3 separate regions of the Homo sapiens genome follow, and regions 1 and 3 are each linked to region 2. Evidence: promoter capture Hi-C in 16 types of primary human blood cells and fetal thymus (Javierre and others, 2016). All regions are on one chromosome and are shown on one strand. Each heading gives the region's core, a stretch centred on a gene start or on the middle of the fragment in contact. The rest is flanking DNA. Distances are from core to core; before and after follow the strand shown.

Evidence for each region. Contacts are between HindIII fragments. The CHiCAGO score rates a contact against its expected background, and 5 or more counts as called.
Region 1: a fragment that was not itself captured here is called in contact with the fragment with the promoter of TJAP1 in region 2 in 2 of 17 cell types (erythroblasts and naive B cells); the score reaches 6.1 in erythroblasts.
Region 3: a fragment that was not itself captured here is called in contact with the fragment with the promoter of TJAP1 in region 2 in 4 of 17 cell types (naive B cells, total B cells, M2 macrophages and 1 more); the score reaches 5.7 in naive B cells.

Annotation. Positions count from the first base shown.
Region 1 is chr6:43,212,937-43,216,707 of GRCh38, forward strand. It overlaps CUL9 (cullin 9), which reads left to right. Exons shown (of 41, transcript NM_015089.4): 27 at 213-358; 28 at 502-631; 29 at 777-976; 30 at 2,143-2,390; 31 at 3,222-3,567. Among named protein-coding and RNA genes, the nearest start is that of DNPH1, 15 kb to the right of the region's middle. The HindIII fragment of the contact is 2,561 bases long and covers 137-2,697 here.
Region 2 is chr6:43,475,528-43,479,670 of GRCh38, forward strand. It overlaps TJAP1 (tight junction associated protein 1), which reads left to right and starts at 2,043. Exons shown (of 11, transcript NM_001350562.2): 1 at 2,043-2,101; 2 at 2,560-2,705. RefSeq lists an enhancer at 2,393-3,186. The HindIII fragment of the contact is 14,243 bases long and covers 1-4,143 here.
Region 3 is chr6:43,194,529-43,198,824 of GRCh38, forward strand. It overlaps CUL9 (cullin 9), which reads left to right. Exons shown (of 41, transcript NM_015089.4): 10 at 1,541-1,737; 11 at 2,117-2,334; 12 at 4,081-4,296. Among named protein-coding and RNA genes, the nearest start is that of CUL9, 14 kb to the left of the region's middle. The HindIII fragment of the contact is 2,325 bases long and covers 628-2,952 here.

The DNA.
Region 1 (3,771 bases), core at 167-2,666, 260 kb before region 2:
TAGGGATGGGCTCCTAGATACCCGTGGCTCATCAGGGAGGCAGGCGCAGGGAAGGCTGAGATCTGGAAGCTTGACAAGGTATCTCTCTGTCTGAAAATGCTGGGGCCCTCCTCCCCATAGGGACTAGTAGGAGCAAAGCTTGACACCTCAACCCCTAAACCCCTTGTTTCGCCCATTCTGTGTCTCCACCCTTCTCCTTGACACTTGCCTAGGTCAGAACCATCCAGTCCTGGACATGGGACCACATCGGCGACTGCAGTGGACGTGGCTGGGCCGGGCTGAGCTGCAGTTTGGGAAGCAGATACTGCATGTGTCCACCGTGCAGATGTGGCTGCTGCTGAAATTCAATCAGACAGAGGTGCTTCAGCCCTTAGCCTCTCTCTGCCTTCTCTGCTACCTTATCTGTCGCTGTTCTCCTCCTAAACCCTGTTCCTCCTTCATCCTTACTCCCCTCTTCCTTTTCTTTCCTTTGACTCCTGACTGGGCGTTTCTGCTCATCAGGAGGTGTCAGTAGAGACCTTGCTGAAGGATTCTGACCTCTCCCCAGAGCTGCTGCTCCAGGCACTCGTGCCCCTCACCTCAGGGAATGGCCCTTTGACCCTGCATGAGGGCCAGGACTTTCCACACGGGGGTAGGTCATTGGGGGCCGGGCTGAGCCTCTGCTGCTGGTCGGGGGGTCGCCCTCAAGATGGGGGGACTGTGAGAATGGGGTCATCTTAGTCCCCATTCATCTGTCCCTCTGCCTCCTCTGGTACCTGACCGGGAGCGGGTTCCAGGTGTGCTGCGGCTTCATGAGCCTGGGCCCCAGCGCAGTGGGGAGGCCCTGTGGCTGATACCTCCCCAGGCATACCTGAACGTAGAGAAGGATGAAGGCCGAACCCTGGAACAGAAGAGGAATCTCTTGAGCTGTCTTCTTGTTCGTATTCTCAAAGCCCATGGGGAAAAGGGCCTCCACATTGATCAGCTGGTTTGTCTGGTAGGCAGAGAGGGGACCATGAAGTTGGCGGAGGGAGGGAGTCATGCTTGGGATTGGGGATGAACACAGTGAACTCTTTCAATATAAGACTTCTGTAGGGTGACATTTCCATCTGGGTTTTCTGTTCCTGACAGAGCAGATAGACAGCAGATAAAGATAAGGCATGAGTGTTTACCATGAACCAGGCCCTATGCTAAGAGTTTGCATGATTAAGTCATTTAATCCAGCCAGGTACAGTGGCTCATATCTGTGATCCTAGCACTTTGGGAGGCCAAGGCAGGCGGATCACTTGAGGCCAGGAGTTTGATACCAGCCTGGCCAACATGGCGAAACCCTGTGTCTACCAAAAATATAAAAATTAGCTGGGCATGGTGGCACATGCCTGTAATCCCAGCTACTTGGGAGGCCGAGGCATGAGAATTGCTTGACCCAGGAGGCGGAGGTTACAGTGAGCCAAGACTGCCACTGTACCCCAGCCTGGGCAACAGAGCAAGACTCTGTCTCAAAAAGAAAAAAAGTCATCATTTAATCTTCACAACAATCCTAGAAATGTTATTTTATTTCATTTGACAGATAAGAACAGTGAAGTATGAGAAACTTAGTAGTGGCCGGGCGCGGTGGCTCATGCCTGTAATCCTAGCACTTTGGGAGGCTGAGGTGGGTGGATCACTTGAGGTCAGGAATTCGTGACCAGCCTGGCCAATATGATGAAACCCCATCTCTACTAAAAATACAAAAATTAGCCAGGCGTGGTGGTGCACACTTGTAGTCCCAGTTACTTGGGAGGCTGAGGCGGTAGAATCACTTGAACCCAGGAGGCAGAGATTGCAGTGAGAGATGGTGCCACTGCACTCCAGCCTGGGCAATAGAGTGAGACTGTTGGGAAAAAAAAAAAAGAGAGAAACTTAGTAACTAATCCACAATCACACAGCTAGTAAGTGGCAGAGCTGCCAGACACCATGGCTCATGCAGGAGGATTACTTGAGTCCAGGAGTTTGAGGGTGCAGTGAGCTGTGATCAGGCCACTGCACTCTGGCCTGGGTGACAGAGCAAGACTGTCTCTTAAAAAAAAAGGGGGGGAAAAATAAGTGGCAGAGCTGGGCATTGAGCCCAGCAGCCTGCTCCCTACATAAAAGTGGACTTCTTGTTTCTTTCCTCCTATCCAGGTGCTGGAGGCCTGGCAGAAGGGTCCAAATCCTCCTGGAACCCTGGGCCACACTGTTGCTGGGGGTGTGGCCTGTACCAGTACAGATGTCCTCTCTTGCATCCTGCACCTCTTAGGCCAGGGCTACGTGAAACGGCGTGATGACCGGCCCCAGATCCTGATGTATGCCGCTCCAGAGCCCATGGGGCCCTGCCGGGGTCAGGCAGATGTCCCTTTCTGTGGCAGCCAGAGCGAAACCTCCAAGCCCAGGTAGCCACTGCACCTGACCCCTTGCAGTGAGGCGGGAGAGGTGGTCATGCCAAAGCCAAGATCCCTTGTGGAGAAACACTTCCCTTCTTTCTTTGTCTGATCCCCTTTTCCCTATCCCTGTTATTTCCCTGACTTTGGTAGTTTTTATTGACCCTCCCAGCACCACCACCCCTTTCCAATCAGAGGCCTGCAAATATGTATTGAGTGCTAACTATGTACTCTACTCAGTTAAATATACAAACTTTCAGGAAGTTTGTTCTACAGAGGAATTTGCCATAGGATTTCTCTAATCAACCAGCACCCCTAAAGCTTTTTAATGTTCATTGGAAGCTGTTATGGCCCTGCTTTTCATGCCTGCTGTTTGCATCATGTGTAAAGTGAATTATCGCGAGTAATCTTTCTCAAACCTCAACATGGCGCCAGTGTTAAAATGCAGATTTAACAGCAGAGCTCTCTGTGCTGCCTGTGCTGCTGGTCCACAGACCACACTTGAGCAGTAAGGATGGAGACTCCTGTTCTCACTACAGGTGCTGCCACCATTTGGGGTGAGACCTACAGTGGGACTGTCCCATCAGCTATTGGTCTCTTAGCACCCTGACCCCTAGATACCTATTTTGTCCCCAGTCATTGCAACAGCCAGCCCCACCCTGACATTTACAGGTGCTTCTGTGGAGGATCTGCTCTGACGGTTGGTTTGGGTGGTTATCCTGAGGCTGCTTAGGCAAGCGAGCAAGTATGCTCAAAGAGGGAGCTGGGGGCCAGGTGGGGTTCAGTTAGTAGGCTGGATAGCAGGGCAGGAATACTGACTTCTGTCTCTTCCCTCCCCACAAGCCCAGAAGCTGTGGCTACCCTGGCATCTCTACAGCTGCCTGCAGGCCGCACCATGAGCCCCCAGGAAGTAGAAGGGTTGATGAAGCAGACGGTGCGTCAGGTGCAGGAGACGCTGAACTTAGAGCCAGATGTCGCTCAGCACCTTTTGGCTCATTCCCACTGGGGCGCTGAACAGCTGCTGCAGAGCTACAGTGAGGACCCTGAGCCACTGCTGCTGGCAGCTGGGCTGTGCGTACACCAGGCTCAGGCTGTACCCGTACGGCCTGACCACTGCCCCGTCTGTGTGAGCCCCCTGGGGTGTGACGACGACCTGCCCTCTCTCTGCTGCATGCACTATTGCTGTAAGGTGAGGCCCCACCAGCATTGCTCCTGCCCCTGGCTTTCTGCCCTACCCTAACAAAATTCCTTGGGAATTCTTGGGTTCTAGCCCAGCACTGCCATTTTCATCACCTGGGCAATAGTGGATTTAGTCTCTTAGTCCTTCTTAAACTAGTTTTGTCATCTGTAAGTGGTACCACCTGCCTTGACACTCTAAAGGGTGGTGGTTGGG
Region 2 (4,143 bases), core at 793-3,292:
TTTTTGTGTGTGTGCGTTGATGGGGGGTGGGTACATGAGATCAGCTTCACCAAGGGGCAGACCAGCTCCATCTCTAGGCCCAGGGAAATGGGATACCTTGCTGCTCTGAAATGTTGATGAGCTGCGGAGGGGAGAGGGACAGGGGAGCAGATGGAATTCCTGGACAATTGTTCCGGCTGTCACCAGAGAGGATAGGCTGGAGGGGGCCCTGGATAATTTATGGAGGGACAGATGCTTCTCCGGAACCATCTGGCCAAGAGAGGCCTGGGCTCGGGGTGGATGATGTCTTTAGGTCTGAGGAGACTCCTGGCCTCCAGCCTTCCTCATTTCCTCTACCTGGCCTGCTCGGTGCCCTGGGGCTTTCCTAGGATGGCTGTGCTCCCTGAGGACCCAGCTGCAGAATTCCACCTGATCCTCATCTCACTCTCTCCTTTGCTGAGTCTGGGGCTTGTCTTTGCTACCATTCCTGTTAGTGCTAAGTGGGGCCTTGAGGTCATGTAACTTCCATCTATGCATTTTCTTATTTTATAGTATTTTCAACCCCTCTTCTCCACCAGTATATTCCAAAATCTGTCAATCACCAACCTCCATACCATTTATTCATTCAATAAATATTTACTGGCCGGTGCAGTGGCTCACACCTGTAATCTCAGCACTTTGGGAGGCTGAGGCAGGTGGATCACTTGAGGTCAGGAGTTCGAGACCAGCCTGGCCAACATGGTGGAATGGTGGAACTCCCATCTCTACTAAAAATACAAAAAATTAGCTGGCATGCGCCTGTAATCCCAGCTACACAGGAAACTGAGGTGGGAGAATCACTTGAACCCGGGAGGCGGAGGTTGCAGTGAGCCGAGATCGCACCACTACACTCCAGCCTGGGCAACAGAGTGAGACCCTGTCTCAAAAATTAATTAATTAATTAAACAAACAGAATAAAAAAAATCTATTGAATACCTACTATGCCAGGCATTGTTTTAGACACTGGGGATACTGTGATGAGCAAGAAAACATCCCAGACCTCTGGAGTTTGCTTTGTAGTGGGGAGATGATCAATAAACAATAAATATTTAATATAATGTCAGATAATGATAAGTACTATGAATGAAAACATTAAAGCAGGGTAAAGGAGAATAGGGATGCTGATTTAGATTGAGTGGCCAAGGAAGGCTTCTCTAAAGTGATGACACTTGAGCAAAGACACAAATGAGAGTCAATATTTGGAGGAAGAACATTCCAGGTATGGGGAATAGCAAATTTAGAGACCCTGAGGCAGAAATATGCTTAATGCATTGGAGGAAAACATGCCATTTATTCATTAGGCAATTATTGTGTGCCAAGCACCTGCTAGGGAGTATGAAGATGCAATCAAACATAGTTTTTGCCCTGAAGAAGCAGCAGGGCAAAAGTGGTATAACATGTAAATAAATAATTACACTGCACGGGACAGCTACAGTAAAGCTATGTACAAGTTGCTAGTGATGCCCAGCAAAAGGAGCACTAAAGGGAAATCTTTCTGGGGGAGGTGACATTTTAGCTGATGGTTTGAAGGAATAGGAGGAATTGATGATGCAAAGGAGGAGGAGAGAGATTAGACATCTTAAGGCCCGATGTCCTGAAAACAAAGGACAATTTGGGAACCTGAAGTTCCCAGGAGAGGCAAAAAATGAGGCTGATGAAGGTGGAAGAGCCTGGATCATGCGGATCTTTGAATGCCAAACTGAAAAGCTGGTTTTATTCTCTGGATGACGGGGAACCAGTAGCACGATTCTCTCTCCCACTGTATCTTTGAGATGTGTTCCCCTATTCTTTTTTTTTTTTTTTTTCTTTCAGTACTGGATTCTTTCCCCGCTTCCCGCTATTGCCCTGCTCCTGACACCTCCTTCCTTCTGTGGCCAGTCCTCCAATCCCTGCTTTCAGGAGAGCCCCATTTTTCACCATCACCTACCTAGTGTCCCACCTCCCCAACCCGAGGCCCCGCCCCCATGGCCCCGCCTCAGATGACGCGACACGCCAAGTGCGTGGGGATTCCCGCGGCCCTGGCCACTACCCGGCCTGCCCCGCGGCAAGATGGCGGCCTGAACGCAGCTGGCAGCGGCGGAAAGTTTGTTGTGGGGTTGGAGTAGTCGGGCGGGGAAGCCAGAGTTGGGGAGGATTGCGGGGGCCCTAGCCTGTAGTAGGGGCGAAGGGGGTACTGGCTCCAGGGTTGAAAAGAGGAGATGGAATGGAGTAAGGTCCGAGGCGGAGAGGAAAAAAAGGAGCTGGGGCGGACCGGGGCCCTAGGGTCCAGTGGCAGCCCTAGGGGAGGGGGATTTGGGGGCGGGGCAGCCAGAAGTAGGTGTTGTGCAGGCCCTGGAGAAGCAGAGTCACAAGTTGGAGGAAAATTTCTTAGCCGCGAATAAAGAAGCCTGGAGCGTGGGATAGAGGCCCGACTGTATCTGGCCGGCCAGAGGGGAAAGGGATCTTTCTAGTAGAGTGGGATAGTGAGGAAGAGAGATCTGGAGGATGCCGGGCAGATCTGCTAAGGAGGGAACTAAAGCCAGTCAAATGACCCTCTTCTAGGCTTAGATCAGCCTTTCCACAGCTGTTAGCAGCATCTGCCCCAATTTCAGCTGAAGATTCAGGTGCCCCAGGGACTGGAAGAAATTACAGTGCCTACTTGGAAAGAAGAAGAGATAGCGACTTGCCCCAGTCCAACCCCAGAGCGGGTAAGGTGGCTTCCAGTGACAGGTTTCTGGCTGGCATGCTCCCTGGGAGGAGGATGCATGGGCTTAGAGTGATGCCAAGAAACATTTGGTCTGAAAAGGGCTCACTTTTATAGAGTTTGTCCTTTGTCTGAGGTCCTTAAGTTAGTGTTTGGCGTAGATTGCAGGCTGACTTTTGAGAGTTGGTGTAGAATTAAGCCTTGTGTGCCTTCACCTATGCAAGTAAACCTGGACAGAGGCCTAGAGACCAGGCCGAAGGATGTTAACACATCCCTGTCACAAGCAGTTTCCTACATGCTCATTGTTTCTGCTTCAATATCCCCATCACTTCTTCACTTTGGCGTCCTGCCTGGAAGTGGAGATTTGTGGGTGACAGATGGTGGGGAGTCACGAGAAAACAAATTCTGATCGTGTTCACTGACCATTTAGGTACCTGCTGTCACTGACTCCTGAATTCATTCTCGCTGTGTGTCTACTTTTGCTTTTTTGGTAAGAAGGGCTCATTAGTGTTCCTCTGGGGATGTGGATTTTGGTGGGGGTATCAGAGGTGAGGGAAAGGCAGGTTGGGATTAGAGAGAAAAAATGTAGATCAGTTTCTGGTAAGAGATCAAGTGGACTGATGTAAAGCTCTGGGAATGTTTAGCACCGCACTGCCTATCCTTGAGACCCCTAATATTTGAGAGCTACTTTACAGTTGGACAAGTGTGGTGATGCAAAGAAAGGATCATGGAACTTGCTCTTTTCTTTTCTGGTAGTTTTTTTCTCTCCTTTGTAATCTTCCCATCAAACCACTTTTGAAAAATATCAGTCTCAGTAGCCAAACTAAGCATGGCCTGAGAGGTAGTGGATTTGGTGTTGGAGAGAAAGGAAAGGGACTGGAGCCAGAGAACACAGTGAATGTGGCCTTCACTTCCTTTGGTGAGTGTTTTGCCCTAGCCAGAGTTGGGAGTAGCCTTCTTATTGAAGCCTGCTTCAGGATCAGCATCGCTTCATGGTGGACTAGGATGGTTTGATCTAGAACTCTTCATTTACTGTCTGCTCTGTACCTGTCCCCCCAATCAAAGGCTTACTCCAAACAGAACAACCCAAGTCACTGTTACTAGGTCAGCTTCAGTACCTTTAGGTATTTGAAGAACTGATGATATGTAGCTGTGACTCTGTTTCTGAAGGTTGAGAACCTCCTTTTTCTGAGGACAATTCGTGCCCCCTTTCAAATTGTAATTGTAATCACCCAAGGGTAGTGTGGTGAACACACATAACAGTTAATAGCACTGACTCTGAGCCCGGCCTAGTGGCACATACCTGTAGTCCCAGCTACTTGGGATACTGAGATGGGAGGAGCACTTGAGGCCAGGAGTTTGAGGCTGCAATGCACTATGATGGCACCTGTGAATACCCATTGTACTCCAGCCTGGGCAGCGTAGGAGATGCAGTCTCCAAG
Region 3 (4,296 bases), core at 540-3,039, 280 kb before region 2:
CAGGATGGTCTCAATCTCCTGACCTCATGATCTGCCCGCCTCAGTCTCCCAAAGTGCTGGGATTACAGGTGTGAGCCATCACACCCAGCCTGGGAGGTGCTTTTCTTTATGGGACCAAGAGCAGCCAGGCATTCATAGTCCAGATCATCATGCTCAAAGAATTCCCTGATCCTCTCAAATTACGTGACCAAAACATAGCAATTGCCATCCACTATAGATCATGACAAAAAAATAAAAATAAAAATGGCTGAGTGTGGTGGCTCACGCCTGTAATCCCAGCACTTTGGGAGACCAAGGCGGGTGGATCACCTGAGGTGAGGAGTTTGAGACCAGCCTGGCCAACATGGTGAAACCCTGTCTCTACTAAAAACACAAAATTAGCCGGGCGTGGTGGTGCATGCTTGTAATCCCAGCTACTTGGGAGGCTGAGGCGGGAGAATCGCTTGAACCCAGGAGCGGGAGGTTGCTGTGAGCTGAGATTGCGCCATTGCACTCCAGCCTGGGCGACAGAGTGAGACTTCATCTCAAAAAAATCTTGCCCTGAAATAAAATTACATCATCTTGTTAATAACTTAAAGTCTACAGAACTCAGCTAACTAGGGGAGGGTGGTGTAACTACAGGGAGAAAGCTTCATTGAGAAGTAGAAGTTGCTTGGAGGGTCCAGGCCTTACAAGAGGCATTGTCCTGAGAATTATTTCTAGCCCAGTCCATCTCTCATGGGTTTCTTGTAGAGAATCAACCCTTTTACCAGGAGAGACATTCTCCACTCTGATTGTATAGTGTCTATTTTAATTTAATTTTTCTCTATAGTCCCAGCAAACAGGTTTGCACATTACAATTATTTTTCCTATAATGCCAACCACTGCCTGTGAGACAACCAAGAAGTCTTATCTAGAAGGGCTGGATGCTGGCTAAGGCCAGGAGACACAGGTTTTGGAGACTTGGTGTATAGGTGGTAATTGAAGCAATGTGAATGGACCTGGTTGCCTCAGTGTGGGTGAGTGCAGAGTCCAGAGAAAGGGGACAAGGAACCTTAGTTCCTTGGGGCAAAGGAACACCAGAGAGGTAGGAGAAAAGCCAGGAGGATGTGAAGTCATGGAACTCAAGGGAAGAGAGATTTTGCAAAGGAAGGAGTGCAAGTGAGATGGGAGACAACTGTAAGAAGCCCCTGAAGACAACTAGATGCTGCGAGGGGCACCATCCTGAAGGGAAGATACAGGAGGGGCGGCTGTCCCACTCTGGTAGCCTTGGTGCTGCGAGCCTGGAGGCCAAGAGGAGTGGAAGGCTGATTTTACCATCCAGTCTCAGAGTTTTTTGTTGTTGTTTAGTTTCTTTCCTTTTTTCTTTTCCTTCCTCCCTCCCTCCTTCCCTCTCTTTGTAGTATTTGATGTCCCATCACTACCTCTTCCATTTCTGTCTCCTACTCTACCTATCTGCAAACAGCTCAGCTGCCCCAAAGTTTGAGGTCTAGAATGAGGCCTACCTTTCCTCATGGTGACTCTGCCCCCTCCTCACTCTGCTTTCACATCCCCCTCACAGGCACTGAAGATGCTGGCCGTCGCCAGCTCCTCGGAGATCCCCACTTTTGTTACTGGCCGAGATTCTATCCACTCTTTGTTTGATGCTCAGATGACCAGAGAGATCTTCGCCAGCATCGACTCAGCCACACGCCCGGGCTCTGAGAGCCTGCTCCTCACTGTCCCTGCAGCCGTGATCCTGATGCTGAATACTGAGGGGTCAGGGCATTACCTTCCCAACTCCAGGCTCCTGCTTAGTCCCAAACCCTGCTACTCCTGTGCTCCAGGCTCATGTACTCCACAGAAATTCCCCTCACGCTGTCACCTCCGGATTAAGCATTGGTGGCGCTGCCAACTGTTGTTGGAGGAGAACCCAAGTGGATTGGGGATAGGGAGATTCCCAGAGAGGGCAGAGACACACTGACTTCCCTTTATGGGTTTGGGAGGAGTGGCCCAAGGTCAGGGGATCAGATGTCCTGGCTCAGAGGGCCCACTGGAGCCCTTTGCTCCCTAGCTGCCCGGCCTTCTATGCTTGCTTTGCTGCTTCCATTGCATTCATGGTCTCTCAGTTTCTTCCTGGTCACCTCCCTCCTCCCAGGTGCTCTTCTGCAGCGAGAAATGGCTTACTCCTGCTCAACCTACTTTTGTGCAACCACCACACTCTGGGAGACCAGATTATAACCCAAGAGCTGAGAGACACGTTGTTTAGGCACTCAGGGATAGCACCAAGAACAGAACCTATGCCTACCACACGCACCATCCTCATGATGCTTCTCAATCGCTACTCAGAGCCGCCGGGCAGCCCTGAGCGTGCAGGTACCATTGTGGAGGGGTGGTTTTGCAGAGGAATCACACAGTGCCAGCCAGGTTTACATATCAGCTCCTTACTGGAAAGATACAAGGAAACTTCAGGAAATGAGCAAGCATTGTGCTCAAGTTAGGTCTTAAGTAGAACTTCCCGACCAAGAAGAGGGAGACTGTGGAATATGTGCAAGGAAATTGCATTTTTTTTTTTTTGAGATGGAGTTTTGCTCTTGTTTCCCAGGCTAGAGTGCAGTGGCACGATCTCGACTCACTGTAACCTCTGCTTCCTGGGTTCAAGCAATTCTCATGCCTCAGCCTCCTGTGTAGCTGGGATTATAGGCACCTGCCACCACAGCGGGCTAATTTTTGTATTTTTAGTAGAGACAGGGTTTCACCATGTTGGCCAGGCTGATCTGGAACTCCTGACCTCAGGAGATCCACTGCCTCGGCCTCCCAAAGTGCTGGGATTGCAGGTGTGAGCCACTGCACCTGGCTGGAAATTGCCTTCTTGAATGGCTTTAAACATATGTGGATTCATATCCATCTGGGCTAGGTTTGGCCCAGTATTATTGGACAGTAGAAGACTCATTGAAATGACATCTAGGGAAGCCTTTCTCTTTTTTTGTTTTAAGCTTAACTGGTTTTTTTTTGGAGGTGGAGTCTCACTCTGTCGCCCAGGCTGGAATGCAGTTGCACGATCTCTGCTCACTGCAAGCTCCGCCTCCCGGGTTCAAGGAATTCTCCTGCCTCAGCCTCCTGAGTAGCTGGGATTACAGGTGCGCACCACCACACCCAGCTAATTTTTGTATATTTAGTAGAGACAGGGTTTCACCATGTTGGTCAGGCCGGTTTTGAACTCCTGACCTCGTGATCTGACCGCCTTGGCCTCCCAAAGTGCTGGGATTAGAGGCGTGAGCCACTGTGCCTGGCCTAAGCTTAACTTTCTCTTCACAGAATAGGGAGGCCTTCTTAAGAGAAATTATAATTTATGGTACAGAACACTTGTGCCTGGAAACATTAGATATTGATACTGGGGAAGAAACCCTTTGTGATTGAAAAACAAGTGAAAACCTAGAAGTGTGGAGGGATATTGAAATAGGAAATACGTGGCCAGGTGCAATAGCTCATGCCTTTAATCCCAGCACTTTGGGAGGCTGAGGCAGGCAGATCACTTGAGGTCAGCAGTTTGAGACCAGCCCGGCCAACATGGTGAAACCGCATCTTTACTAAAAATACAAAAATTAGCCGGGCACGGTGGTAGGTGCTTGTAATCCCAGCTACTTGGGAGGCTGAGGCAGGAGAATCACTTGAGCCCAGGAGTTGGAGGTCACAGTGAGCCAAGATCATGCCACTGCACTCCAGCCTGGGTGACAGCGCTCTGTGTATTCCTACAAAATAGGAAATATGTATGTATCTTTTAGTCTGTGTACCTAAAGCCACCATGCAGGTAGTACAGGGATATAATCATCATAGTTAATATTTACTATAACTAACATTTAATAATAGGACTATAAGAGATTTAAAATGTCTTGTGTTTAACTCGACAGTGTTTGCTATACTAGGTTTTTTTTTCAAATCTGATTAGGTTTGTATTTGGGGTCAGGAAAGAAAACCCCTCATAGTTTGGTTAAAAACTATAGACATCCTCAATATAGAAGGAAAATTTTGGGGTGATTTTCTGGACCTTCCCAGTTCTCAGTTTGACAAACTGGTAAGACTCTTCATCCACATTTTTCCCTCTGGTGTGTCTGGCTGCAGCACTAGAGACCCCCATCATCCAGGGTCAGGATGGGTCCCCTGAGCTACTGATTCGATCCCTGGTTGGGGGCCCATCTGCAGAACTACTCCTGGACTTGGAGCGTGTGCTGTGCCGTGAGGGCAGCCCCGGAGGTGCCGTGAGGCCCCTCCTCAAGCGCCTCCAGCAGGAGACCCAGCCTTTCCTCCTGTTGCTGCGGACTCTGGATGCTCCGGGGC